2 separate regions of the Homo sapiens genome follow, and region 2 is linked to region 1. Evidence: promoter capture Hi-C in human tissues and cell types (Jung and others, 2019). All regions are on one chromosome and are shown on one strand. Each heading gives the region's core, a stretch centred on a gene start or on the middle of the fragment in contact. The rest is flanking DNA. Distances are from core to core; before and after follow the strand shown. Region 1 holds the start of S100A7A (S100 calcium binding protein A7A). Region 2 has its middle 6.9 kb from the start of S100A12.

Evidence for each region. Contacts are between HindIII fragments. The study calls those that stand out against the background at their distance.
Region 2: a fragment that was not itself captured here is called in contact with the fragment with the promoter of S100A7A in region 1 in 1 of the 25 tissues and cell types used here (thymus).

Annotation. Positions count from the first base shown.
Region 1 is chr1:153,412,109-153,419,921 of GRCh38, forward strand. It overlaps S100A7A (S100 calcium binding protein A7A), which reads left to right and starts at 4,412. Exons shown (of 3, transcript NM_176823.4): 1 at 4,412-4,455; 2 at 5,958-6,115; 3 at 7,037-7,813. The coding sequence starts at 5,975. The coding sequence ends at 7,201. It also overlaps a transcript of S100A8 not described here. The HindIII fragment of the contact is 7,303 bases long and covers 671-7,813 here.
Region 2 is chr1:153,378,637-153,386,449 of GRCh38, forward strand. It overlaps the pseudogene LAPTM4BP1. Among named protein-coding and RNA genes, the nearest start is that of S100A12, 6.9 kb to the left of the region's middle. RefSeq lists a silencer at 1,748-1,918. The HindIII fragment of the contact is 6,662 bases long and covers 876-7,537 here.

The sequences.
Region 1 (7,813 bases), core at 3,162-5,661:
CAACAAAAGCCAAAATTGACAAATGGGATCTAATTAAACTAAAGAGCTTCTGCATAGCAAAAGAAACTACCATCAGAGTGAACAGGCAACCTACAGAATGGGAGAAAATTTTTGCAACCTACTCATCTGACGAAGGGCTAATATCCAGAATCTACAATGAACTCAAACAAATTTACAAGAAAAAAACAAACAACCCCATCAAAAAGTGGGCAAAGGATATGAACAGACACTTCTCAAAAGATGACATTTATGCAGCCAAAAGACACATGAAAAAATGCTCATCACTGGCCATCAGAGAAATGCAAATCAAAACTACAATGAGATACCATCTCACACCAGTTAGAATGGCGATCATTAAAAAGTCAGGAAACAACAGATGCTGGGGAGGATGTGGAGAAATAGGAACAGTTTTACACTGTTGGTGGGACTGTAAACTAGTTCAACCATTGTGGAAGACAGTGTGGCGATTCCTCAAGGATCTAGAACTAGAAATACCATTATATGACCCAGCCATCATATTACTGGGTATATACCCAAGGGATTATAAATCATGCTGCTATAAAGACACATGCACACGTATGTTTATTGCAGCACTATTCACAATAGCAAAGACTTGGAACCAACCCAAATGTCCATCAATGATAGACTGGATTAAGAAAATGTGGCACATATACACCATGGAATACTATGCAGCCATAAAAAAGGATGAGTTCATGTCCTTTGTAGGGACACGGATGAAGCTGGAAACCATCATTCTCAGCAGACTATCGCAAGGATAGAAAACCAAACATCACATGTTCTCACTCATAGGTGGGAATTGAACAATGAGAACACCTGGACACAAGAAGGGGAACATCACACATCAGGGCCTGTCGTGAGGTTGGGGCAGCGGGGAGAGATAGCATTAGGAGATATACCTAATGTAAATGACGAGTTAATGGGTGCAGCACACCAACATGGCACATGTATACATATGTAACAAGACTGCACGCTGTGCACATGTACCCTAGAACTGAAAGTATAATAATAATTTTTGTAAAAACGTTAATTATCTAATACAGATTATATAATTAATTTAATAAAGAACCTCAATACAAAAAAAGAAATTTATATGTATTCTCTATGGTCAGGCACAAATTTATGAATGCACGTGTATATAAATAAATTTAAGTGTGTCCTTCAAATATTTTGTATCAGGAATCAGCAAATTATGGTCTTAAAGCCAAATCCAGCTGGCCAACCAATTCTGGAGATTAGTGTTTACTAGAAACAGCTGTCTTCATCCACGGGGCCCTTATGTCCAGGGCTGCTTCTGGGCTGTGGCAGCATCTGCCCGCCCTGCTCTGCACCATTACTGGTGTTTTGTTATCTGACGACTCTGTTGAGTTCCTGGGCAGACTCTGCCAGAAACTGCCAAGTGATATAAATTTGTCAGTTTTCATTAATTTATTTCAATGTTTGCTTTGTATAATTCAATATTATGTTCTTGTGTATATAAGGATAAGACTATTGCCAGGTGCAGTGGCTCACAACTGTAATCCCAGCACTTTGGGAGGCCGAGATGAGTGGATCGCTTGAGGTCAGGAGTTCGAGACCAGCCCGGCCAACATGATGAAACCCCATTTCTATTAAAAATACAAAAATTAGCTGGATATAGTGGCAGGCGCCTATAATCCCAGCTACTCAGAAGGCCGAGGCAGGAGAATCGCTTGAACCTAGGAGGAGGAGATTGCAGCGAGCCAAGATGACACCACTGCACTCTAACCTGGGCTGCAAGAGCAAAAGTGTGTCTCATAAAAAAGAAAAAACAAGAAAGAAAAAAAAGATAAGACTATTGCATCTTGGTGACTTGCACACTAATCAATAGGAAATATTCTTCTTTTTCATTTAATCCCTTTTCTTAGAATTCTTTGTTGTCTTGTATTAATATTGTTGTCCCTGATTCCTTTTGTATTGCATTTCTTCTGTTCCTTTTTTTTATAAACAGTGATGATATGTAACTCAAAATGAATCATAGACCTACATGCAAAACATAATATTACAAAACTCCTAGATGGTAGCATAAGAGGAAATTTGATCATCTTGGTTTTGGTGATGACTTTTTAGATGCAACACCAAGGCACAATCCATGAAAGAAATAATTCATAAGCTGGACTTCTTTAAAATTTAACATTTCTGCTTTGTGAAAGATATTGTCAAGAGAATGAAAAGATAAGCCACAGACTGGGAGAAAATATTTACAAAAGACATATCAGACTTTGTATGTTATCCAAAACGTACAAAGAACTCTTAAAACTCAGAGATAAGAACACAAACCAAACAATTAGAAAATGGGCCAAAGACCTTAACAGACATCTCATCAAAGAAGATACAGAAGGTGACAAATAAGCATATCAGCTGATGCTCCACATCATATGTCCTCAAGGAAATGCAAATTAAAACAACAATGAGATACCAGTACACACTTATGAGAATGCCCAAAATCTGGAACACTGACAGCACCAAATGCTAAAGAAGGATGTGGAGCAACAGGAACTCTCATTCATTGATGGCAGGAACACAAAATAGTACAGCCACTTGGGAAGACAGTTTGGTGCTTTCTTAAAAAACTAAACATACTCTTACCATAGGATCCAGAAATCACACTCTTCGGGATTTACCCAAAAGAACTGAAAGCTTATGTCCACACAAAAACCTGCATACACATGTATATGAACACATTGCACAGTGGTGAAGTCCGGGCTTTTAATGCAGCCATCCTAAATAACACGCATTGTACCCACTAAGAAATGTCTCCTCCTTCACCCACCACCTGACCTCCTGCTCTTCACTGTCTCCAGTGTCTATGATTCTACTCTCTCTCTACCTCCATCTGTATGCATGATGTACCTCCCACTTACACATGAGGGTGCACAGTGTTTGACTTTCTTTTTCTGAGTAATTTCACTTAAGATAATAGCCTCCAGTTCCATCCATGTTGCTGCAAAAGTCATCATTTCATTCTTTTTATGGTTGAGTAGTATTCGTCTGTGTGTGTGTGTATGTGTGCGTTTGTGTGTGTGTTTGTGTGTGTGTGCGTGTGTGTGTGTGTGTGTATCTTTTGCCGCTAAAAGTAATATTGCCGTCATATGGGAAACTGGGAGAGGGAGAAACAGGTCCCCCTGGTTACATAAGAACTGACAGAGAAGGAAGTTGAAGAAAGATGATGGGTGGAGAAAATAGGTCCCACCTAGGGAGACATCACATCAGCTCTATGGAGCCCCAGAGTGCTTAAAGGGCTGGCACTAAATGAACCAGGACCTCTTGCGGCCTACAAGGAACATTGTAAGGGGGTAGCAGAAAAAGTCCATTTCAGTGATTCATCATCTCCTTTTCCTCACCATGCCCCAGGGACTCCTGTGCCTTCCCAACCCTCTTGCCCCTACCTGGTTCAGGCTTTCCACAGCAGGTTAGGGCACATTATAGCCAAGGGCACAACTCCCAACTCCTACACAGGCTGTTTTGCATAGGAGGAGGAAAAACACTGAAGACTTTCTGGGAAGTTAGTGCCATGGGGCAGGAAAGAACTTTTCCCACTCCCTACCTCCAGGCTCATTCCATGGGGCGGGGGGGGCGGGGGTCACTCCACCACTCAACCTAGATAGTGAGGCCCCTGACCCCAGTCCCCCCACCTAAATCCAGGGCTTCTGTGAGGGGCTGACCAATGGTTAGCAATGAAGTAATCCTGCTTCCCTCCCTGGACTTTGAGTTCCCATAGGGCAGACCCTGATGCAACCCAAGACCTATAGCACAGGGGATAAGAGTAAGGATTTGATTCAGGCTTTTCTTTGTTCGTGTGATGATTTGTTGTGTTTACTAGCTGAGTAAACTTGGGAACATCTCAACTTCTCCTTTCCTAAAATAGAGATTGCAGCACCTGCTTCTTAAGACTATGAGGGGAGGGTTGAGGAGGATGCAAGAGCAGCAGGTGTCTTGATGTCTAGACATTAAAACGCTCAGTAAGCGGTGGGGGTCATAGAACAGGCTGTCACAACAAATGTGTGGAAGTACTGGGGGAGGGAATAAACAAGACCATGCTGCCTTTGGGAGTCTGAAACTCCATTCTCTTTGGGTCCAGAGGCCCAGTGCTCTTTTCTCCCATTTCCTGACCTGTTACTACACATGTACCGCTGCCTTACCCTCAAATCAAGATTGAGCCAGAGAAGGCCCCAGGTGAGGTCTCTGGGGTGGGGTGGGACCTGGTGACCTGGGACCCTGGCCAGAAATCCTGAGCACAGCCTCCTGGGTGTGTCCCACACACCTGATATGGGACAAGCCTCCAAGAAACAGATGACAGAGGTGGCCCCAGGCCTCCCAACCCGTGGGAAGAGCCAGGCTGAGCCTTATAAAGGACTGCTCTTTGTCCAAACACACACATCTCACTCATCCTTCTACTCGTGACACTTCCCAGTTCTGGTAAGTCTCACCTGCCTCTTTGCATTTTCTAGAAGTGCCCAGTGCCCAGCCTGCCATGCTGCCTGTAGGAAGGGAAAGGGCTGTGGACAAAGTCTCAGAAGCCTGGGTCTAGGCCAGCTCTGCCATTAGCTGGGCTGTGTGACCTTCACTTGACCCCAAAAGCCCACGTCTGTACAACCAGGTGGCTGAACCAGACCTGTCCATTGCTCCTTTGGGATCTCCTGAGACAACTCCTGTGGAAATGTCCCCAGTGGGACCTGAGCACAGGACCCTCCCTTTCCTTCCTGTCTTCTTCCTCCCTGGATTCATTCTCCTTTTGGGATCCCAGTTGCTGAATCCCCTCCCCAGCTCTGCCCCCACAGAGGGAGGAGGGATAAGGATCCCCTGTGAATGCTTTGGAGGCTCTCCAAACCCCCAGGCCTTGGACCTGTAAATTCTCAGTCAATCTCTGGGCACAGGGCTTGGCCTCTGGCCTTGGCCTTGGCCTCAGATTCAGAAAGCTTTGAGTGGCTTCTCTTAGTCAGTTGCTGGCACGGAGCTTTCTCCTGCGTTGAGAGGTGTTGGGGGTTTATTGTCAGATGCCCACATGCGTTAGCCAAGGTCCTTTTCTGGTTCTTTGGAAAGTGTAGAAATGAGAGCTGCACTGTCTTATTTTTCAGGCTTGGGGTGCAGGGCAGCCCAGGCTGGCTACTGGCTGGAAGATCTGCTTTGGAAAGTCAGACATTTTTATTTAAACAGGGTCAACCCTTGGTGATTCAGAGGGTGCAGATATTTCCCAAGAGCAGACATGAAGCGACTCCCACCTCACTCCCACCCCATCCAGCAGCTTAAGAACCAGGGAGTTATTTCTGTTCCTTGTAACAGAGGCAATTCTTGTTTCTCATTCCCAAGGGAATGTAGGAAGGGCCCCCTGTCCTCGGGAGAGGGCTGTGTTTCCTGCTCACACTCATGTCCACGCTCACATGTGCACCTGGAGCCTGCACGCACTGTGTCATGCAGGGCTTGCACTTGAGTCAAGGTGGGGCCCACGGTGTCTGGTTCCTGAAGCAGCCGAGGAGGGTCAGACACCAGATCACCAAGGCCATTGTCCTGCCCCCGTGACTCTCACCCCGACTGTGAAGCTGGAGGAGATGGATTTGGTGCTGTTTCAAGAGTGGGGTCCGCCATGTGCTGGTTGAGGCTGGGGGGTCCCAGCTTAGTTCTTCTATGTGTTGCTGGCCTCCGACTCTCCCTGCTTCTCCTTCTCTGAAGCACTGTCCACAGCTGGACTTCTGCCATCCACCTGCATCTCTTCTTGGCCCTGGCCAGGATGGGCCGGGTCTCAGACTTGGTCCTACCCTCTCATTTTTGAACAACTTATCCCATCACATTTAAAAAAATCAAGTTCCTTCTGCTCCATCTTAGGGCTGTTTTTACTCTGTCCTCAGCCCTCCTTCTAACACCCCCACATAGAGACCTTAATTCAAACTAAGGTAAGAAATGATTGTCTTTATTTCCTGAAGGCTTTTTGAAAGCAAAGATGAGCAACACTCAAGCTGAGAGGTCCATAATAGGCATGATCGACATGTTTCACAAATACACCGGACGTGATGGCAAGATTGAGAAGCCAAGCCTGCTGACGATGATGAAGGAGAACTTCCCCAATTTCCTCAGTGCCTGTGTGAGTTGGGGTCTAGCTTCTCAATGTTGGTTGGACCCTGGCATGGCTGAGGATACATTTTGCTATGTGGCCTTGGACAGGTCACCCTCATCCTCTGATTAAAAAGTTTCCCATTTGCAAATAGGGCTTTATTGCTTGGATCATATGTGAATCTAAGGATGGTAGGCGAAAAAGTATGAAAATGGGAAAGAGTTATACAGATATAAAGGAGGTTATTAGATGGTCAGCAAAGTGTGCAGCTTGAGGACAGTGCACAGTCCCCTCCCAGCGCTCACTGACCCTCTCTCTGTGAGACTGAAACTCACATGCTCAGGTCCTGCTTCCCAAAGGCCCCACATCAACATCCCTGAGATTACTGGGAAAGCACTAGAAGTTCCATTGCTAGTAGAAATCAATAGCCCTCTTTGCAATAAAGAAAACTCATTGGCAAATCTGAAAAAACCTGTGGGCTACTAGGTACCAAAGGGTCTAGATGACCAAGAGTAGGGAACCCAGAAGATGAGTTTGGTGGAAAAGGAGAAGAAAGGAGAGGAGGTCAGAGAAAGAAGAGAACAAAGCATGAGGGCCAATTTTGAGGCCCTGGGGTAGAACTAAGGTAGGCAGTGCCCTTAAATGCTGGGAACAGGCAAGATTGAGGCTGGGGCAGGGGACTGCTCTCCCCAAGGTCACTTAACAGAGTGCCTCGGGACAGGACCTGCCTCCCATCCTGAGGTGTGAGACAAAAAGTCTCCTTAGAGAACTCCAGGGATAACACTCACGTCCTCACCCCAACTTCACCCACTCACCCTGTGCTCTCAGCCCCACGACCATGCCTGTGCAGATCTAGGTACTTGTCTGTATCTCTGCCTCCTCCTCTCCCCTCCCAGCCCAAAACTTGTTTGTGATTGAATTTTTCTATTTTGTATGTTTTTCTCTTCACAGGACAAAAAGGGCATACATTACCTCGCCACTGTCTTTGAGAAAAAGGACAAGAATGAGGATAAGAAGATTGATTTTTCTGAGTTTCTGTCCTTGCTGGGAGACATAGCCGCAGACTACCACAAGCAGAGCCATGGAGCGGCGCCCTGTTCTGGGGGAAGCCAGTGATCCAGCCCCACCAAGGGGCCTCCAGAGACCCCAGGAACAATAAGTGTCTCCTCCCACCAGACACTTGCCTTATTTCTTCTTCTCTTTGGTGACCTACATTGTCAAAACTACCAATTCCAGGTTAACTTTGTTGGAGAATTTCCCCCACCCCCATCCAGTGGGTCACCCAGGAGTAATGTCCCTCCAGCAACGTTCCCCCTATGGCCTCCAGCAGAGCTGATCTGCCTCTCACACAGGTCCTGGTGTCTGCCTCTGCACCGTTCCCTAAATGCAGCCACCTTGGCAGGTTCCAGGTGGAAGTTGGTAGAAGGCCCCTGCCAGGTCACAGCAATGCTCTCCTTGTCAAGGCATGGACCAGGGTCATTCAGACACATTCAGATACTGCACTGAGAAGGAGCTGGCATCTCTCAGTGTGCTCCTGCCCTCCCACTCCTGCCCCAGCTGTTCTCCAGGGCTTGGGGAAACAGAAACCACTCACATAGGGATTCCTGGATGGCTTCAGGTTCAGCGCCCTTGGGGCTATGAATGGGAGGCTCAGCAGTGCCCTGAGGATGGGCTTCCTTGTCCTGTGGCCTCTGCTCCAGGGGCAGTGTCCTTTCCCTGTGCTGTGTG
Region 2 (7,813 bases), core at 2,957-5,456, 34 kb before region 1:
TGGGCGAATCTCATTTTAATTGCAAAAGACTTCATTCACAGCACATTCAATAATGGACCAACAGGAGAGTTGCTGGCTTTTGAACATATGAATATATAAAAATACCTTGCAACTTAGGTAGTCAAGATAATAAGTGCATAAAAGGAAAGCAATCCTCATTTTTCTGAAAACTTTTACATTTTAAAAGGTGACTAGGCATACTTGGAAGTTCAAAGCTGTAGAATGTACCTTGCAGGGGAAGAAGGAGGAAAATCCTTTCCATGTTTTTAGGTAAATATATAACAAATATATCCCAATTCCACTTGATAAAGTCAGTTGCATGACTTCCTTGAACCAGGCTAGGGCAGAACACTCAGTAAAAGCAGGCCCTGGGTGGGGATGTGAATCCTGAAGAGGAGCACCAGATCCCACGCAGCACTAAACACATCAGTTTTACCCTCTAACATAGATGAGGCACGCCGCCCCATGACCCTGGACAGGGGATGCAGGAGAACAGACATCAGGTGGTTACTGCTCCCACTGCCTGGTGCTTTCCAATGGTTTTAAGTCAGGCCATGGAGAAAATCCTTTACCACCAAACACAAACTGCCATTGAACTTGTCATAAAGGATGTTATGGGGGAAATTCTTGAAACACATACATAAGGACTTCTATTTACCTAATTAGAAAAATGATTACAGAATTGGCATTCCTGTTTTCGTAAGATTTTGTTCTCTACATTGGAAAGGTTTAAGAAAAGTTGTCTATTTTTGGTTTTATTTTACACTTTCAAAAGAGAGGGAACAGAGAGAAACGTATGACTAACTGCCCAACTTTGGGGTCCCACAGGTATGAAAGCAGACTTCTCTGACTCTAGGTCCATCTAGATTTGGGGGAAGTTTACATTCCTAGGGAGGGTTAGTGAAGCCTGTTACACCCCCAATCCTACAGAAAGTATTCTACAGCCAATCTATCACAGTGTTCTAACAAAGCATATGTTGAGGAAAACTACAGGTTTCAACCTAACATCTAAATCTTAAAAAGTAGCACTTCGGCAACAAACAAGCGCAGAGAGCTCACCTGAAAAGTGAAATAACATGACTATTGCTCAGATATCTGAAAAGTCAAGCTGCTGCCCCCAGCTCCGCCCACTCAAAGGCTTAGGCAGACACCTAGGGTGGCGGCGGCTCCTTGGCAGCACCTAGGGTGGCGGCGGCTCCTTGGCAGCACCATTCACAGTGGTATCATCATACCGGGGTAGGAGCACCTTAGTGTCATTGCTGGTAACATAAACCAGGACATCGGAGGAGTTCCTGCCGTTCATCTATCTGCAGCAGTTCCAAACACAGCTAATCAAGTAACCCTTAAAAGTTAAGATAATGCTAATAAACAGAAGAATAATAAGGACCAAACAGGTGGATTCACTGACATGACATCATCTCTGTAGGGAAAATTAGGAGGCAGTTGTCGTATGTATTCCTGAATGGAGTTTGGATAAACAAGCACAGTGATTGCAACCAAGGTGTTCAGAGCAAAATCAAAGATCTGGTAACAGGGCCAGGTGCGGTGGCTCACGCTTGTAATCCCAGCACTTTGGGAGGCCGAAGGGGGTGGATCAGGAGGTCAGGAGATGGAGACCACGGTGAAACCCCGTCTCTACTAAAAATACAAAAAATTAGCCGGGCGTGGTGGCTGGCGCCTGTAGTCCCAGTTACTCGGAGAGGCTGAGGCAGGAGAATGGCGTGAACCCGGGAGGTGGAGCTTGCAATGAACTGAGATCGCACCACTGCACTCCAGCCCGGGCGACAGAGCGAGACTCCGTCTCGGAAAAAAAAAAAAATCTGGTAACAGAAGAATGGGATGATCCAGAATGCGTGTTGCCTGTATGCTTCGTAATTAGCCTTAATTACGTAATTAGCCTTAATTCTCATGATATCAGTATCATGAGAAGAGAAATCGCAATGGCAATGCACGTATTGGCGTCATCCATGAACTCAAAATCACCTCCCAGTTCAGAACTTGAAAAGTGATACTGATCCGGATCAGCCAGGGCACTCAACAAAATCAGGAGTACCACGGCGTTGATGATCAGGTACCAGACACCTAACAGGATGGTGCTGGTGCGGACATGGAGGCACAGGCAGCAGCTGTTGGAGTAGAACCGCATCCAGGGTGCGACCAGGGCGTGACCATCGTCATTGCTCCTGGAGCAGAGGCGCGAGGACGAGCCCAAGTTTCCAGGAGCGTTGACCTCCTCGCCCAGACTCCGCCACGCGGCTGCTGCAGACTCCTCGGCTGCTCCGGCTTCCGGCCCGCTCACCGGTGTGCCCGCCAGCCTCGCTCCTCTATCCTCCCAAGAGGGAATTTTATAGCGCTAAATGCCTATATCAAGCGGGGTGGGAGGAGGGGGGAGAGATAGCATTAGGAGATATACCTAATGTAAATGACGAGTTAATGGGTGCAGCACACCAACATGGCACATGTATACATATGTAACAAACCTGCACATTGTGCACATGTACCCTAGAACTTAAAGTATAATAAAAAATATATATATATAAAGAAGATATTAATAGAAAGATCTCAAATTAACAACCCAACCTCCACCTAAAGTAATTAGAAAAACAAGAACAACTAAGCTCAAAGCTAGCAGAAGAAAAGAAGTAACTAAAATAAGAGCAGAACTAAGTGAATTGAGACCCAAAAAGCCATACAAAGGATCAGTGAAAGGAAAACTTGCTTTTTTGAAAGGATAAACAAGATTGATAGACCATTAGCTAGATTAACAAAGAAAACGAGAGAAGATCGAAATAAACACAATCAGAAATGACAAAGGTGACATTACAACCGATTCCACAGAAATACAAGAGATCCTCAGAGATATGAACCTCTCTATGAGTACAAACTAGAAAATCTAGAGGAAATCAATACATTCCTGGAAACACAACCTCCCAAGACTGAGTCAAGAAGAAATAGAATTTCTGAACAGACCAATAACAAGTAATGAAAATAAATCAGTAATAAAACACCTACCAACAATAGCAACAACAAAAAACCCTGTATCAGACGGATTCATAGTCAAATTCTACTAGATCTACAAAGAAGACCTGGTATCAATCCTAAAGAAACTATTACAAAAAATCAAGGAGGGACTCCTCCCTAACTCATTCTATGAAACCAATATCCTCATGACACCAAAATTTGGCAAAGGCACAACAAAAAAAGAAAACTACAGACCAATATCCCTGATGAGCATAGACATAAAACTCTTCAACAAAATACTAGAAAACCAAATACAGCAGCATATCAAAAAGTTGATTTCCCAAATAAGTGGGCTTTATTCCTGGAATGCAGGGATGGTTCAACATATGCAAATAAATACATGTGATTCACCACATAAACAGAATTAAAAACAAAAACTATATGATCATCTCAATCAATGCAGAAAAGCATTCAATAAAAATTCAACATTTCTTCATGATGAAAGCTCTCAATAAAATAGACATCAAAGAAACATACCTCAAAATAATAAGAGCCATCTATGACAAACCCACAGTTGACATCATACTGAATAAGCATAAGTTAGGTGCATTCTGCCTAAGAACTGGAACAAGACAAGGATGTCTACTCTCACTATTCCTATTCAACATAGTACTGAAAGTCCTAGCCAGAGCAATTAGACATGAGAAAGAGATAAAAGGAACCCAAATTGAAAAAGAGCGAATTACTTCTTTTCACTGACAATATGATTCTATGTCCAGAAAACTCTAAAGATTCTTCCAAAAGACTCCTAGACCTGATAAACAACTTCAGCAAATCTCAGAAAACAAAATCAACATAGAAAAATCAGTAGCATTTCTATACACCAATAATATTCAAGCTGAGAACCAAATCAAAGATGCAATTCCATTTACAACAGCCACACACAAAAAATAAAATACCTAAGAAAATATCTAACCAGCAAAGTGAAAGACCTCTACAAAAAGAACTACAAAACACTGCTACAAGAAATCATAGATGACACAAACAAATGAAAAAGCATGCCATGCTCATGGATTGGAAGAATTGATATAGTTAATAAGTCCACATTGCCCAAAGCAATCTATAGATTCAATGCTATTCCTATCAAATTACCAAGGTCATTTTTCACACAACTTTACAAAACTCGTCTAAAATTCATATAGAAGCAAAAAGAGCACAAATAGCCAAAGCAATCTTAAGCAAAAAAGAATATAACCAGAGGTACCACATTACCCAATTTCAAACTACACTACAAGTCTACAGTAACCAAAACAGCATGGTATTGGTACAAAAATAGACACATAGACCAATGGAACAGCATGGAGACCACTGAAATAAAACCACATACCTACAACCAACTGACCTTGAACAAGGCTGGCAAAAATAAACAATGGGGAAAGGAAATCTTATTCAATAAATGGTGCTGGGGAAACTGGCTAACCATATGCAGAAGAATGAAACTGGACCCTTACCTCTCACCACATACAAAAATTAACTCAAGATGGATTAAAGACTTAAATGTTAAGACCTTAAACTATTAAAATCCTGGAAGAAAACCTAGGAAATACTCTTCTAGACATGTTCTAGGCAAAGAATTTATGGTTAAGTCCTCAAACGCAATGCAACAAAAACGAAAACTGATATGGGACCTAATTAAACTAAAAAGCTTCCACGCAGTGAAAGAAACTAATAACAGAGTAAACAGACAATCTACAGAATGGGAGGCAATATTCACAAACTATGCATCTGACAAAGGGCTAATACCCAGAATCTATAAGGAACTCAAACAACTTAACAAGAAGAAAACAAATAACCCCATTAAAAAGTGGGCATAGAACATGAACAGACATTTCTCAAAAAGAAACACAAGTAGCCAACAAACATGCAAAAACTAATCATCAGAGAGATGTGAATCAAAACCACAAGAAATATCATCTCACATCAGTCAGGATGACTATTATTTAAAAGTCAAAAAAATAACAGTTGTTGGCAAGGTTGGAGAGAAAAAGGAATGATTATATACTGTTGGTAGAATGCAAATTAGTTCAGCATTTTGGAGATTTCTCAAAGAACTAAAAATAGAATTGCCATTCAACCCATCAATCCCGTTACTGAGTATATACCCAAAGGAAAAGACACCTGCACTAGTATGTTTATCAAAGCACTATTCACATTAGCAAAGACATGGAATCTACCCAGGTACCTATCAATGGTGGGTTGGATAAAGAAAATGTAGTACATATATGTCATATATGTCAATACTATGAAGCATAAAAAAGAACACTATCATGTCCTTTGCAGCAACATGGATGCACCTGGAGGCCATTACGCTAAGTGAATTAATGTAGAAACAGAAAACCAAATACCAGAATTTCTCACTTATATGTGAGAGCTAAACACTGAGTACACACAGACAAAAAGATGGGAGTGGTAGACACTGGGGATTCCAAAAGGAGGGAGGGCAGGAGGGGCACCAGGGTTGAAAAGTTACCTAACAGGTACTATGTTCACTATTTGGGCAATGAGATCATTCGCAGCCCAAGCCTCAGCATCATGCAATATACCCATGTAACAAACCTGCACATGTATATCCTGAATCTAAAATAATTTTTTTTTTTTACAAAAAGGCCAAAGAAGGATCCTTCAGATGGCCTCACTGTTTGAAACCAACGGGCTGGGTCTGCCTGTGGATCCCTTCCCCTGTGTCTGTACAATCCCTGAGGTGTTTACTCAGGTACAGCAGGAGGTGTTGGCAACAACCAAAGGCCACTCTGCTCTGCCAGCAGATGATCAGAGGCTGTTCAGGTGTTCATCACCAGCTTAGTTAATGCATTCAGTGAGTCTCACTGGTCCTAAATAGTCCAGGTGGTAGCATTAGTTGTCACTGACGTAGTCAATGACAAGTTGGGTACCATTTTTCCCAGGGCATGTACACCTATGCCAAGTAGGAGGACACAGACAGCAAAATGGAATCAGCTATCAGAATGCCTTCCTGGCAGAGTATGTCAGGCAACCTTGCAATGTCAGAAGCCCTTCCAGCTTACGGTGTCATTTTGCACAAACACTTGAGGACCCCAAATTCCAAAACAGCATGCTCTATCTAAGGGTGACAGGTATTCTGCAGTATATCCCACAAAGGAATATACTAGCCAGGGGAGCACGTGTAACTCCGGTCAGGGAACTGTCACTATAAAAGTCTCTAGTTGAAGTGTACAAAGCCTGTGTCAGATTTAGCCATGAGTTACATGGCAAGGTAAACTGCATGATGAGCCTGCTTTCCCATACCATTGACCATGTTTAAAATCTGTCTGATTTTATGTCTATGTTCTAGGTAACCTGCATTGAGGCCATCACTCTCCAATCAGAACCACCGATGGCTGTTGGGGCCCCATTCAAATTGGCAACAGGCCACAGATTGACTATTCCAGCATGGAGATGCCCTGAGTACATGGGTGGCTGATTCAGCAGTGTTTTAGATCACAGGGGAATTTCCAAATCTAAGACTGGAAGGAAAGCTCCTCCGCCCAGGGAAGAAGACAGAATTGTTACTGGGGCAACCCCTAAGAGTTTAGGGCAATCAAAATGCCCAATCCTCTTGCTCTATACATAGGGAGATTATCTTTGCCTAGAGGATTGCTCACACCAGGAAAAAACTACCAGTCCTTCAGGCCCTGAGGTGTGCCAGGTAAAGTCCTGGGCAAGGAAAAGTGGCCCAAGAAAGAAGCTCATCTGGTACCTCCTCTCCCTACTCCTCACTCTGGACAGCAGAGACCCTATAGGGGATGAGGAGAAAGAGGCCAGGCAGGCAGGCGAGGAATGGCTGTCCCATCCACACCCAGGGTGGAAAACGGCTACAAGAGAGCACCTTCATGTTTTAATTAGGGTCTCTTTCTTGGAGACAGTAGAGATCTGATTCTACCTCTGCCACTTGCCAGATTCATAAGCTTTGTCAAGTTTCTGAGTCTACTCATGTACAAAATGGAAATAGTAGTTACCTCTCTCATAGGGTTGTTATGAGAAATGAGATAAGTTACCACAATGTCTTGAGCTAAAAAGCGAAATCATTAACAAAATAATTGGCCTGTGTCAAAATTTTTGTTTCAATTCATTAATGAGAGAACCAGTGAGGAAGACTTTTTTGAACTGGTTTGAAAGATATTAAGAATATGAAAGACAGTTAGAAAGTAATGTCTAAGATTCTTAATTTAGACACAAGACTAGATACAAGTCTTTTGACTTTTCATAGGGTGACAAAAACAAACCATAACAGTTTTGGGTTTAATGTCTTGACCAGCCTATAAAGCCATATTGCCCTATCCATCAGAGGTAAACTGTCTACATCATCTGTTATGAATTGCTATCAAACATGCTTTGCCGATCACTTTTCTCAAAAGTGTCAGATGAGGTCTAGTAGCAAGGACCTTCTTTTTTTCAGACAGACTCTAGCATGAGATCAAAAATATAAGCAATCATCAGTTTGCCTTTTTCCAGGTTTGAGATGATTTTTTTTCTTTCACACTGACACATAGCTGGAGCCCAGTAAGTGTTGGTAGCTTTCCCTCCCCTCTTCAGCCCATTTCAATTTAGACTGAATTCCCCCAGGCAGGAGGGCAGAAAATGGGCTGGGTTCTGGACCCAATCAAAATTGTTCTGGTTCCCAAGTGGAGGGATAAACAGGAAAATCTTTTCCATTGGAATAAGGCCTTTTGCTCAGCCACTGTAGACCGACTGCCCAAGTCCAGATTCTCTCCATGCCCTTTAAGACTTTTGTCACAACCACCAGGAACACACCTGAAGTCAGGACACTTGGGCG